2 separate regions of the Homo sapiens genome follow, and region 2 is linked to region 1. The links are contacts of gene promoters, found by promoter capture Hi-C in human tissues and cell types (Jung and others, 2019). All regions are on one chromosome and are shown on one strand. The core of a region is centred on a gene start or on the middle of the fragment in contact, and the rest is flanking DNA. Distances in the headings are between cores, read along the strand shown. Region 1 holds the start of BLVRA (biliverdin reductase A). Region 2 overlaps HECW1 (HECT, C2 and WW domain containing E3 ubiquitin protein ligase 1).

What was found. The method cuts DNA at HindIII sites, captures the fragments that hold promoters and counts their contacts. A contact is called where the count stands out against the background at its distance.
Region 2: a contact is called between a fragment that was not itself captured here and the fragment with the promoter of BLVRA in region 1, in 1 of the 25 tissues and cell types used here (pancreas).

Annotation. Positions count from the first base shown.
Region 1 is chr7:43,755,927-43,762,626 of GRCh38, reverse strand. BLVRA (biliverdin reductase A) reads right to left here and starts at 3,947. Exons shown (of 8, transcript NM_000712.4): 1 at 3,893-3,947. It also overlaps the pseudogene LOC107986727. RefSeq lists silencers at 3,523-3,842, 3,853-4,242 and a cis regulatory region at 5,264-6,031. The HindIII fragment of the contact is 11,547 bases long and covers 51-6,700 here.
Region 2 is chr7:43,556,167-43,563,556 of GRCh38, reverse strand. HECW1 (HECT, C2 and WW domain containing E3 ubiquitin protein ligase 1) reads right to left here. Exons shown (of 30, transcript NM_015052.5): 30 at 1-1,742. The coding sequence ends at 1,631. Among named protein-coding and RNA genes, the nearest start is that of STK17A, 23 kb to the left of the region's middle. The HindIII fragment of the contact is 6,407 bases long and covers 1-6,283 here.

The sequences.
Region 1 (6,700 bases), core at 2,698-5,197:
AAAAAAAAAAAAAAAAAAAAGGAACTACTGGGTTCATGGAAATCACTAAATTATTGCTGACAAAGCTCTAGAGTTTCACATTCCAATTTGCACGTGGGAGAGATGCAAAATCTCACAGTAAATTAATAGCACAGCCAGGACTAAACAGCTTCCTTGGCTTACATTATGTTTCCCTTTTGATTTCAGTCTCTTTCCCACATGCAAATTGGAATCTGAAACTCCAGAGCTTTGTCAGCAATAAATTAGTGATTTTCATTAACCCAGTATTTCTCACCAACATTTCTGATTGTTGTACTCGGGGGGAAAAGGGTATGTGCCATTGGCATCTAGTAGGGAAAGGCCAGGGATGCTGCAAAACATCCTGTGATGCACAGGACACCTTCCTACCCCAACTACACATACACAAAGAATTATCCAGCCCAAAATGTCAACAGTGCCAGAGTTGAAAAAGCCTGGATTACACATCATGCAGAATGAACTACAGCTGTGACCTTCCTCCTTGTTCCTCCTCAAACGCCCTCTCAAGTATCTATTATTGCCCCAAAGCCAGGTGACTCACAGAAGTATGGGGAAGGATTAGGGAGAGGGTGACCCTCTCAGGTGGGGCCAGCTGCCAGCCTCAGAGGTCTAAGGGTAAAGGTAAAAGCAACTCTTGCCCTGGAGGGAGTTGGATACTTTGGGATCTATTGAGAAAAATATAATAGCTACATGGGACACAAGTCTGGAAATATATACATCAAAATATTACCAGTAATTATGTCTCTAAGTGGTGAAACTTTTAGTGACTACTTTCTTTTTGCTTCTCTGTACACTTTAAACTTTTCTATAAAGATTAGTTAACATAATTATTCAAAACTCTAAAAAACATTACAAACTATGCCACTTTCACTGACTGCATCCCTCCTAGCCCCAAACTGAACAGACTTTCACAGGGCAATAACATATCAAGGTGCTCTGATAATGAAGTCCACAGAAAATTTTCCCTATAACTGAGAATCAGGAAAGGCTCTGCTTCCTTCAAGGCCATTAACATTTGGGGGATCAATGAATGAATGAATGAATGAAGTTGCCATGTATGTTTTACTTTCAAAAGACAAGAACCATGTAACTGACCAAGTTTACCTTTCTAGAAACAAATTTGGGACTCAACTACAAAAATATAGGCCTGCAATGACCTATAAGGGAGCCGCTACACAGAGTGGCTATTGGAATATAAATTAATTAAATATAGCACATTTTCATAATCACAGAAAATTCTATTGGATAACACTGAAACACTTCATTCTTTTTTTCCCCTGGAATAGTTTCTTGTACTTATACTTTCTCTCATCTCAATTCCTGGCCATATTTATCTTCTATTTATTTGTTACTATTCTGTGATTTTGTTGCAAATGACCTTAATTCCTTTGTGGATCAATTTGGGGCATTGTACTTTGGAAATATCAGTGTGTATATATGTCACTGTTCCTGAGAGTTCAACCTTCATTTCTGACCATAAGGCAGATCTAGCAGCTCATGTAATGTAGCTATTTCCTCACAGCTCAAAGACGGAAGAGAGGCCGGGTGAAATGGCTCACGCCTGTAATCCCAGCACTTTGGGGAGGCCATGGTGGGTGGATTACTTGAGGTCAGGAGTTCGAGACCAACCTAGCCAACATGGCAAAACCCTGTCTCTACTAAAAGTATAAAAATTAGCTGGTCATGGTGGTGCGTGCCTGTAATCCCAGCTACTTAGGAAGCTGAGGAATGAGAATCACTTGAACCCAGGGGGCGGAGGTTGCAGTGAGCCAAGATGGCGCCACTGCACTCCAGCCTGGGCGACACAGTGAGACTCCATCTCAAAAAAAAAAAAAAAAGACTCAAGAGGACATTGTCAGGAACTAAGCTCCCCTGTCACAAAGGCACTATATTCAGTGTTTTTTTTTTTAAATACACAAAAAGGTATACACTGTCCATTAATGGAAAGTTTCACTATTTGATTAAAGCTTAATTTGAAGCTGAGTAATGCAATGTCTTTTTCAAATTCCAAAATACATGGCTATCAACTTATTTCTAAAATCTTAAATATATGATTTACCACAAAAAACAAATGGCCCAACCTGTTACTACTGATAAATATATGATCATGTCATCAGAGTCCTGGATACGCCAAAGAGAATCAGAAATGAAAATGCGCGCAGCTCCTGCACAGTGGGATTCCCTGTCAGCCCACGGTTCTGATGGAGTGTCGCCTCTACATAGAAGTCAGTGCAATTTTGAGTATTTTACCAGATTTTCAGTTCTAGAAAAAATGACTGGGAGTAATAAGCAGTGTAGATCAAAAACTAAATACAATTATAACAAAGATGAAAATTAATAGATGTGGCCCAAAGTGGCAAATCTTTGACTTTAATCACATGCTAACTGGATAGGCAGGGGGTACAAAGAATAAAAAAGTAAAGATCGGCCGGGCGCGGTGACTCATGCCACGCCTGTTATAATCCCAGCACTTTGGGAGGCCGAGGCGGGTGGATCACCTGAGGTCAGAAGAATTGCTTGAACCCAGCAGGTGGAAGTTGCAGTGAGCCGAGATCGCGCCACTGTACTCCAGCCTGGTGACAGGGCGAGGCTCTGTCTCAAAAAAAAAAAAAAAAAAAAATTACATATGAAATGTGGGAAAACACACTGAGAATTATTCCTAAAAAAGTTGAAGTATAATTAGAGACCCTATTGTAATTTTTAGCTCTCTGGCTACAGAATTTCCCTTCTGATACTTTGTCTAACATTTGACTTGTTTTTCTGGAATGCATCCCGTTAAGGGAAGGATGAGCATATTTATCAATACAATCTTTTAGGAAATAATTAGGAATATACCAATACCTTTATTTCCATAATTTTAATATCTTCTTGGGAATCGTACTATAGAAATTACATTAATGATGGAAAAACTTTCAGCACAGTATTGCTTCCTTTGTAGGTGGTGATGATGACAGCTAACATTTACTGAATCCTTCCCATGCTGAAAACCCTATTGTAAGCTATTTATGTTCGCTAAGTCACTTATTCTTCAGGGCTATCCTACTAAGTAAGCATTATGATTACCCCCACTTTTACAGGTGAGAAAATCGAGGCAACAAGAGGTTGGTTAACGTGCCCAAGATCAGATCGCACAGCGGTATAATAGGATGGAAAACTCCTATCACATAATGAACGTTAAGTGAAAAAAATTAGTATCCAAAACTGTAAGTCTGATGTCTCATTCTTTTTATAATTTAAGTAGTTTATAAATACCCTCATTATTAGCCATATTTCTGAGCACTTCATATGTAGAGTGCACTTTACAGAACACTGTCATGTAACCCTCACACCGTCTACGAAATAAGTGATAGTTTCCAGTTTCCAAAAACGAAAGCGGGGCTAGGAGAGGCCAAGTGCCTCGCGTGGCGCCTCAGGATTCGCCCCAGCGGAGCAGACCCCAGGGCATCCCAGGCGGGTCCCGGCCGAGCTAGCGGCCCTGCGGTGGCTACGCCCGGGCCCAGCCGCTCGCGCTCCTGGAGCCGCCGGACTACGCGGCACGCGGACGCCGAGCCTGCCCTCTTGGGTCTACATAAAAACCGAAACTACGGGCAGTCTTAACCGAAATGGAGACTTAATTTTTTAGACTGTCTTTTGTGTAGTTGAGAAAGCCCCTTGCCGGGACCCGCGCTGCTGGGCCTCCGACCGCGTCCTCACTCCGGGCCCGGGCGGGGCGGGGCGGGGCAGGCGGCGCCCAGGCTGCGTCCCGGCTCTGGCGGCCGCGGGCCCGGGCCTCCTGCGGGCCTGGGGCTTCGAGCTCAGGCCCTAGCGCTCTATGGAAGCCGCGCGCGACCCCCGCTCCCCTGCGCGCGACCCCCGTTCCCCGCGCGCGCCTCACCTGACGCGGGCACCGCTCTCCGTGCAGCCTCCGGGCGCCACCGGCTTTGCGGACCGGGGCGGGATCCCAGCTCCGATTGGCTGCCCGGCTGGGGGGCGGGGGCCCCGAAGCGGGGTGGCGGAGACCGGGAGGGGACCGGAGGCGGTGGGGAAGGGAGTGGACGGAAGGGGAGGGAGGGTCCCGGCCTCGTGCGGTCGCGCGTGAGATCCTGGCCTCTGTGCCCTGGGTCTGGCGCCTGGGGCCGTAAGAACCGTCCGTGCGCCTGCCCTGTTCTCTGCACCCAGCTTGGTGGCGAGGGGTGGGTGGTGGGTGCCGGCCGACCGGAGGGCGTATGGAAGTGGCTGGGCCCCCTCACGGTGTGCCTGGCCCCCTCACGGTGTGCCTGGCCCCGGCGTGGGGGGGGCAGGCCCGGGGGGTGTCGCATCTCTCTTATCCGCCCCCCACTCACCACGTAGAACCCACTGGATCCCATTGGTATTTAGTGGCCCCGGGCCGACTGAACTGGCGCCGAGGCTTACCTGAGTCCTTCCTGTAAATGTGAGGAGCGGAGGGAATATTCCAGGAGGCCGGTGTCTGCGATGTCCTGCTCTTGGGTAGCTAGGAAGTAGTGAACGTGGTCTAGGGAACTGCCTGGGCTCTTATCCACCTGGGAATGGGTTTGTTGGGGATCCTGATGTGGGAGAAGCCAGGGAGCTTCTAGCCTAGTGGGGCTAGGGGAGAAAACAGGGAGAGGGGTGGATTAGGCTGAAGGAAAGAGATCTCTGATCTTAAAGGCAGCGTTCTGACGGGTAAGGTTGACTGGCATTTTCCCCAACAAAGAGTTCTAGTACCGTATTCCATGACCTGACAAGCCTGTTTAAGTGAGGTTTTGTTGAGTGCAAAGAGAGAAGGCTTGGCTTTGAATTTTTATCTCCAGGCGGGACCTGCCTCCTGAACTCCATACTCCTCTATCCAGCTGCCTCCTTAATACCTCCTCTTGGATCTCTAAAATACATTTCAATCTCAACACATCCAAATCTGTGCCCCTGATCTCTTCCCCATAGCATCACCATCTCGATGGCAACTCCATCTTCCAGTTGTCAAGGCCAGAAACCTTGCTGTTTCAGAAACCTTTCTCTCACATCCCACCTCCAGGGCCCAAAAATTCTGTTGGTTGGATCTCCCTAGCATACCCAGAGCCTGACCACTTCTTACCTCTGCCTCCATCATCTGCTACCTGGGTCATGACAGTGGTCTCTTCCCTGATATCCCTGCAGCCTGTCCCCATAAAGCAGCCAGAGTGACCTTAAAAAAAGAAAGCCAGATCAAATTCCTCCTCTGCCCAAAACCTTCCCAGTGGTTTCCCAAACTCAGAGTAAAACCCAAAGCCCTGCCTGATCTGCTCCTCTGTTACCCCTACAACCTCATCTGCTACTGCCTCCCCACTGGCTCACTCTGCTCCAGTCACTCTGGCCTCCCTGCTATTTCTTATGCAAGGCAGACAGGGCTCTGCTGCAGGGTCTTTGCACAGGCTCCTGTCTGTTTGGAATGCTCGACTACTTCTCACTCTTCCTGATATTTTCTCAAATGCTGCCTCATTGAGAACTACCCTAACCACTCCATTTGAAATTGCCACCTGCCCCACTCCTGAATGACTTATTTCTTTAGCTCCTGACTGAATTTGTTTATTTAGCTTATTGTTTGTTATCTGTCTCTTCCATCCACCCCTCCCTGCTGCTGCCCCTTGGGTCATGATATGTCCTTTCTCGGAAAAATAACTGCCACTGATGAGGTACCATATTTTCACTGGCAAGGCCTAGGACATAAGCCAAACTCTGGGGTCTGATTGTGCAGTCACTTTAAATAAACCACAAGAGAAAAGAGTGATTCCCCAAAAGGACATGCTGAGTGCTGCTGCTAGGAGAAGGGATGCTGGCTAGGCAAAACCACAGATGTTCACTTGCTGAGTCAGACCAGTACACCCAGAGGAGCTTTGGGAAAGCCTGTGAGAGGGGCCCTCCATGTCCTTGAGAGCAGAATTTAAAGATGAGACCTCTAACCCCCTCACTTTCTTGTAATGATGTGTTATGAATGCATTGATTTATTTATCTTATCCTTCTAAAGTCTAGTTTTGTATTCAGTTTCTACTTTTTTGAGTAAGAGCTTCCCATTCTACAAAGTAGTGACTCTCTTCAACCTGAAGAACTTTGTGGGAGGTTGGGGGGACAGTAAGACTGCTGTAGGCCACAAGTGACAGAAACCCCACCCAAACAGATTAACAGTTAGGAGGTGTATTAAGGCTCCAGCTCCATTTCTGTGTCATTCTCTTAGCTCTTTTTCTCCTATGTGTAACAAGATATGAAAGTATAGATTTTGATTAGGACAACAAGATATACTAATGTGAAATTCTAGGAAGAGATCTCCAAAGATGTAAGAAAGAATCAGGCGGGAGCCACCTGTAATCGCAACACTTTGGGAGGCCCAGGCAGGCAGGTCGCAGCCTGGGCAACATGGTAAGACCCCGTCTCTACTAAAAATACAAAAATTAGCCAGGTATGGTGGCATATGCCTATACTCCCAGCTACTCTGGGAGGGAGGCTGAGGCATGAGAATCACTTGAACCCGGGAGACAGAGGTTGCAGTGAGCCAAGATAGCACTACTGCACTACAGCCTGGGAGACAAAGTGAGACTCCATCTAAAAAAAAAAAAATTAAAAAAATAATAAAAGTAAAAAATAAAATAAAATAAATAAATAAAAAGAAGGAATTGGAGAGTGGAAGGAGGGTTTGGTGAAGAAATCTCTGACAGAGGCCGGGTGCGGTGGCTTA
Region 2 (7,390 bases), core at 1,831-4,330, 200 kb after region 1:
ACACACTGTCCAGACACAAACTGGTATAATGAGCCATTGGCTTCATATGAAATTCACTTCGTCTTACATTTCTCCCTTGTTTTAATATGGAAAACAATTAAATGACATTTAAATAGTGGGGTCTCTTGAGCTCTTCTTTTTCCCAGTGAAGAAAAACACTTTCATTTATGACCTATTTCAGGCAACATGGATAACAACGTTAGAAAAATAGCAAATGACCATTATGGTTGGGTTTATTTCAAATGTAGTTGAGAGGTTAGGCTGTCTTTGGAGCCTGCAGCTGTTTTTCTGACAACATGAAGTTTTCTGAGATATGTTTTCACTGAATGCTAAAAGAAACTGGATATTTATTTTGATACAAATCAACGTGCCTTTGGGGTGTTATGTTTCTGCCCCAGGAGGATTACTATGGGTGAAGGAGAAGTACTATGTTGCCCTTGATCCCTAACAAGCACCATCACTCTCTGCAGCTTCCTAGTGTGGTCCCGATGGACAATCGAATGCAAAGGAACTTGAACTCCATGATTAAGAAAGGAAAAGGAAAAAAAAATGTGAAAAAAAAATATCAAAGTTTTAAAAAAAGGGTTTGTCTGCCAAGCAAACAAAAGTCATGGCTTTAACAAAAGTCATGGTATCATCTACACATTTTTTTTTCCTTTGTGAAGAACTGTGGCTAGACTAAACAAAACAGAACAGTACAGAACTCAGGGATTCAAACCAAGGTAATATGTCCTTCTTCCCTTTCTCCAGTTGGCATTGCCACATTCTACATAAGACAATGGGGGCTGAAGCCTCATCCTTCATGCTACCTCAATCAAGAAGCTTTCTTTCTTGGACATGTGCACAAGTTTGTCCTTCTTGTGGTGTGAGTATTCACTAGGGATGCTCCCCCTCCTAAACTTCTCTTGAGTTGAGCCCACAATCCCCACAACCATTGGGATGCATTGCATTGCATCAGCAGCAGGTGTTTTCTTGCTGTTGTTAATCGTTAGAAGTGTCATATTTGCACCGTATGTCTAGGCTAGTTCCGGCTGATGGGACTGATGCCACATGTGAATCATGAGTTGAATGTATAAAAATTTCAGCTTTGCCACTGTTGTCCTTTGGATGGATATTATGCACAGGGAAAAGTAGATGGAGAGGAAAACAAAGAGTTGATCAGCTCCTAGTTCTGGAGTTGGTTATTAGAAATTATAAAAAATGGTGGCTCTGCTCAGAAGACATGGGCATATGAAAGCCTGGAGTGCTTAATGCTCACATTTTCCCTTCAATGATAGAAATGGAAGTAAACATTTATTACCATTTGGTCAAGTGTAGCTTAACTTGCATTCATATTTCATTGTTAGTAATGGAGGTATGTGGAGATATACACAGACCTTGAGACAGCTGTTTTTTAATATTGCATACAGGCTAGCAGTTCATTGAAAACAGAGGAGAGAAGCCTGAAGGTTAGATCTTAGAAGAAGGCAGTTCTTCATGCACAGCTTTTGTCAATCCTGATTTGGTTTGAAAATAAAAATCATGGAATACCAAAATCAAAGGAGAGTTGATTAAGGGAAAGGGAAAAGGGGATCATCCCAGGAAGGGTGATGTCACTGGCCAGGAAAATGTCAGGCGAGGTTCCATGTCCTCACTCAAGTCCAAAGGTGCTGGTTTCCTCTACTGCTGTTAACAGCTTTTCATACAACATGGAGTACGAGGGATACGGTGGAAGATCCAGTCGGTTGAAGCATGTGTGTGCCCTGAATGGGGAGAAGAGATTGGTGAGAGTGTTTGTTTCAATGATACAACTGGTTCTGGATCTGTGACTGTCTGAAGTTGTGATTCAAAAAGGAATCAAAAGTGAGCAGGACCATGATTTAGGACCACCATAAAACATTGCACACTAAAGAGCCACATTCCTCTAGAATGAATAGACTGGTGGAAGGAATGGAATAACTAAAAATGGGTTGTTTGCATTTGCAAGCAAACCAACTACACTAGAATGACACTAGCAAACTGATTATAAACTCTATGGTATCAGCCTGATTTGCAAATGAGTTACAAATTTTGATGTGGTCAATGAAGGAGGCAGAAATATAATTAGTATTGAAGGATTATATTCCTAAGTCTTCTTGCCCAGCTCTGATTTCTGAGCCTCTGTGAACCACATGCATCTATTTAGAGGAACCTGAGATGGCCTGGAATTCTGAGATCCAGTTCTCCATTCAAGTCAAGTGTGCTCTGGAGACAAGTCTGACTCCTCTACCCCAGTAGAACCCACAGAACCTAAAGTCGAAGTGCTGCATTTCCAAGAAAAGCTGCCCGTGTGAGCCAGTCCTCTCTGGATGCCTGGAGTGTCCTGGCGCCCGGGGTTCTAGCTTGCTTCATGTGCTTCCTCCTGCATGGCCAGTGTCTGCCTTAGACAAGGAATGTCTTCCTCGCCAGAGGCTAACACCTGGACCTGGAAGACTCATGTGGCTCTCCAGCAGTGGGTACAAGAAGCCCAGCACACATAGATTCCCTGCTGTGGAGCCTTGAATCACCTGACTAGCTGCTCCCTGCCAGAAGTTCTTTGTTTTTACAGAAACTTTGGCTGATGCCGAGTCCTGTACCGTAGTAGAGAGAAAGGTGGATGGGTGCAGGTGAAAGTTCATTTCCTGCCTTTTCCTCCCTAAGGGTGGTGTGTTGAAATGGTGTTTTCAGACACCAACCAGCACAGAAAAGGGCACTCTAAAATCAAACCAAATCAAATAAAATCAAATCACAAAACAAACATACAAAGAAACAAACAAAACTAAACTCTTCATTAGAGTTTTATTTGGGATATTAAACTCTTCTTTTCATTACAAGATCCCTAGGGGACTTGTGTATTATTTACACCTTTGTTTTAAAGTATATAAATCAGAGTATCAGATCACTGCCCAGGCTGATGCAGCACTCAGGTTACGGGGGGAGATTATTTTGGGAATAAGGAAGATGGGAAGAGGAAAGAGGGAAGGTGGGGTTTCCTGCCCATCGAGAATCTAGGGAGGATGCTGGTGTTTTCATCTGCCCAGCACCCATTCCTCCTCCTGGCAGTCCTTGGGGAACTATCCCTAACCCCTACCTCCCTCCTCCCTGTCCCTTTCCCCGCTCAAGCTCCAAAGGCAGGCACAGGGCAGTAGAGTGTCTGGTCTTAGGCCTTAAAGACATAACTGGGAAGAAACATACGAATACAGATTGGCAGAATTCTTAAATTATTATCTAAGATTCAAACAGGCCTTCCTTTACTTTAAAAGAAAATAATTGAAATACTTTACCTAGATGTAAATATTTGAGTGAAAGGGAACTCAGTAAATTGAGTAGGATGGTTACAGTGATTTCTCTCTATGTTAAAAAGATTGCAATGAAACTAGAACATACATTGGGCTATGGCTAAACAGGCGAAGTGGGGTGAAAAATCCCAAGCATGCTTTTGGAACTAGCTGAATTAGCCAGGGGCGAGATAGGAGCAGGCATCATCTTCATAGTTTTCTTCCTCTGGTCATTTTAACTGGCACTCATGAGTGGAAATATTACAGAAAAAAAATCACCTTTACAAATTAGTTGGAACCAAATTAATTCTGTAAAAGATCATTTCTGGGAGTAAACAGAAAGCATTGACGAATAGCACCTAGTCTGAACACTCATGGTTTACTTACTAGTTGCTTTTATTGCATTTATTTAGAGCCTTGGTGAACTCCCTTAGTTTGTCATCTAGAATGAACGAACACAATCAAATCATGATCCAATTCAGCATTCCTAAGAGCTCACCACCCTCCAGGTGTGGTTCTGACAGCACCGAGTGCCTGCTTACCTCATTCCCGTGCACCAAACCAAGCATTGCCCGGTGGTGTGGGGCAGTGGACAGCAAGAAACCAGGGCTTGGAAGACTTCTATGCTGACCCCGGTCTAGTCACTTACCAGCTTTATGACACTGGAAAAGTCAATTAATCTTCCTGAGCCTCAGTTTTCTCACTTGTAAAGTGGGGATAATAATATATGCTGCGTGCACCTCAAAGGGTTATGGGGAGGATCAACGCCAGAACACACATAAATGCGTTTTGTAACCTGTGAATCATCATTTAAACATAAGATTCTCTTAATAATGCAACCATGATTGTGATAATGATTTGGGGAACCGTGTCATACTTGTGGCAACTGAAGCCTCTGGAGTTTTGCACGTGACCTACTGGCAGGTGACTCACTCTCTTCTCACACTTGGTGCGATGGATGTTTTGGAGATCTGCACGGGTCTTTAAGTTGTGTCGAATTCCATGCCATTGGTGTCAAGCTAGGGTTCCAGCATTTTGAGATAATTTTGGATTGGGTTGTGCCAATCCCTGTATTGTTTATCCTTCTAACTGTGTCATCTACACAGTTGATCTCCCCGTCTCCTCTATTTTTCCAAGTTATAGATTGAAATGTTAACCAACACAGGGCCAAAGAAAGTCTTGCTCCTCTCTACTAGAGACCACTTTAAGGTTGTCTAGAAACACACAAAAGTGGCAGCAGTCACTCCTCTTTGCTGCCAATTGTTCAGCCGGTTATGTAAGTTGTGTCTTCCCTTCATGCCAATCTTCTTCCACTGCCTAACTACAGCCTTGTTCTCTTCAGATAGGCCTTGCTCTCTTTCCTTCTAAATTTACTCTTTTTCAAGTTTGCCAATAACCTCTTGATCCCTAAATCCAGAAGCCCATACCGCTCCACCTGCTCCAGCTCTTTAAAAGCATTTGACAGCTCTTCCTCTGGAACATCTCCCTCCTTGGCTTCTCCTTGGTTTCTCAATGGCTGCCATTTTCTCTGCTGAGCTCCCTGATGGCACCCTCAGGCCTCCTTTGTAGGTCCTCTTCTGGCCTTAGGTACTAGAGAGCAGCATTTCTCAGCTTGACACGATTCACTTTTCAAACTTGATAACTCTTTGTTGTGGGAGCTGTTTTGTGCATTGTGAGATGTTTAGCAGCATCCTTGGCTTCTACTCAATGGACACCAGTAGCACCCCTTCCCCTCAACCAAAAATGTCTCCAGACATTGTCAACTGCCTCTTGCGGGGGAAGAGGGGCAAAGTCGCCTTCCCCAGCCCCACTTTGAGAATCACTGCTACAGAGTAAACCAACTACTAACTTAACCAGGCCTCCAACTCCACCCTGGGTCTGGGCTTAGTTTACATCTGCAGTGAAACATGTTCATATTAGAATTTCGTTTGCAACTTTTAGGCCAGTTAATTGCTCATGACTCATAGCTTTGATATCCCTGGTCCCTGCCCCAAAGGTAAACCCAAAGATTCTCCCCTCTCCTTTATTCTATCTCCACACTGCCCAGTGCTACTTCGACTCTGACCTAGCTTCTGCCCTTCTCTTTCCTTCTGAGCCTTTCCTCTGTCCTCCTTTGAGCTCTTGTTCAAAGTAAAGAAACTTTGCCACCTCCTTAAGCTCTTTCCAGATGCTGCCTCCGGGTCCTAGTGTCCCATCTCCAGTTCTCATGGGTGGAAATTGCTCACTGCCCCACACGCTGTGACGTGGATGGACATTCTTCACACTCCCTGCTGTCAATTCCACGTCATGACTTTTGCAATCCTTGATCAGTTTCCATTCCTTTGAATCTCATGTCATTTAGATAATTTATTTTTAAAACCATAGGTTTTGGCTGGCATTTCATTTTAATGAAATAGGATAGAGCAGAAAATAGATTTTATTGCAGATAATAAGGGTAAAGTGCTGTTTTGAGGAACTTGAGTTTCAGATATACACACACATATGTGCAAATGAGTACATGTGCATGTCCTGAGTTGTGATATAAAAGGCATTTCTTTCTGTGGACTATGGTTTAAGAAGCTTGAAAATCAGTGATCCAGATAGATCTTTGGTTCCTTCTGACCCTCTGAACTTCTAACTTATTATGACTATTATCTGGCACTTTGCTGAAGTCTTCTTTTCCACTTCAAGTCCTCCTACCAGACTGTGTGGCAACTAAGTCCACATGGCTGACAGGGTGAACACCCAAGCCCCCAGTTCCTTGACCTCAACTCCAGTGACAGTCCTGCCTCTCATCTACTTCAACTATGAAATTATATCCCAGAAGCCTCTACCCTCAAAGTCCTTTCTCCTGGCCCTCACACATCTTTTAGCAGGCAGGGGCTTGGACTGACACAAAGGTTTTATGTAGCCTGGGCTATGACCGGGTTTTGCTGTGGCGGTGTCTGGCGCTCTCATCTGGGAAGCCAGTTGCCTTTCCTTTCTGCAGAGGAAGGACTTGAGGAAAGAGCTGAAGGCTGCCTCTCCCAGAGTGCAGGCCACATGCACTGTGGCTCACAGTACCTGGGAAGCCCATGCCACCCTGGGTCTGCTTTGCTTCCTGCCTGCTCAGGGCTTCCTGTCACCTGCCATAGTCAGGTCAGGTCTTCCCGAACGACAGTTTCTGGAAGTCAGAGGTTCTTTCTTTCTATCCACACATAGATGACATTTTTTTAGGTTCTTTGATCTTCAGACATTGTCCAAAGGAGATTGGACAGGGGTCACTATTCAGGGAGTTATTTTCAGTGTCCTCTTAGAGGCATTTGCTTCTTGTCCCAAGAAGAGGTCCCTACTTCCCCAAGAAACCATCTCGGGGGCTTGTGGTGCAGCAGCCCTCTTAGGGGTGCCTTGGTTCAGATATGAAGAACGTGTTCATAAGCCCAATGTCTGCCTTAGAAGCTCTCTGTGTGGGTTAATAATATTAATGTGTATTTCAAAGCTTCCAAAGCAAATATGGAAATTACATTCAATCTGTGACCCCAGATAACAGAAGCAATGACTCTCATTTCCTAAAGAATAGAGACTCCTCAGCACGGTCTTTTCTTTTTTCTTTCTTTTTTTTTTTTAATTTAATTTGAGACAAGGTCTCACTCTGTTGCCCAGCCTGGAGTGTGGTGGTGCAATCACAGTTCACTGCAGCCTCAGCCTCCTGGGCTCAAGTCATCCTCCTGCCTCAGCTTCCCAAATAGCTGGGACTACCGGTGCATGCCACCATGCCCAGCTAATTTTTTAAATTTTTTGTAGAGACGAGGTCTTGTCCTGTTGCCCAGGTTGGTCTTGAACTCTTGGGCGCAAGCTATCCGCCTGCCTTAGCCTCCCACAGTGCTAGGATTACAGGCGTGAGCCACTGCGCCCAGACAGCAGGGTCTTTTGTTTGTGGCTCACCAAACTCTTTCTCAACTGCATCCCCTGTGATGTTGCTCCGGGCATCTTACCCTCTGCACTGGCCAGCTGCACCTTCCTGAACACGTGCTGCCATTCCCCGCTCTCAGCCCTTGCTTGTGTTATTGCTTCAGCCTGGAAGCCCCCTTCTCCCTATTCCTTGCCTCCCAATCCTCCCCTAAATGCCAGTTTTTTAGTGGCATGTTCTCTAGGCA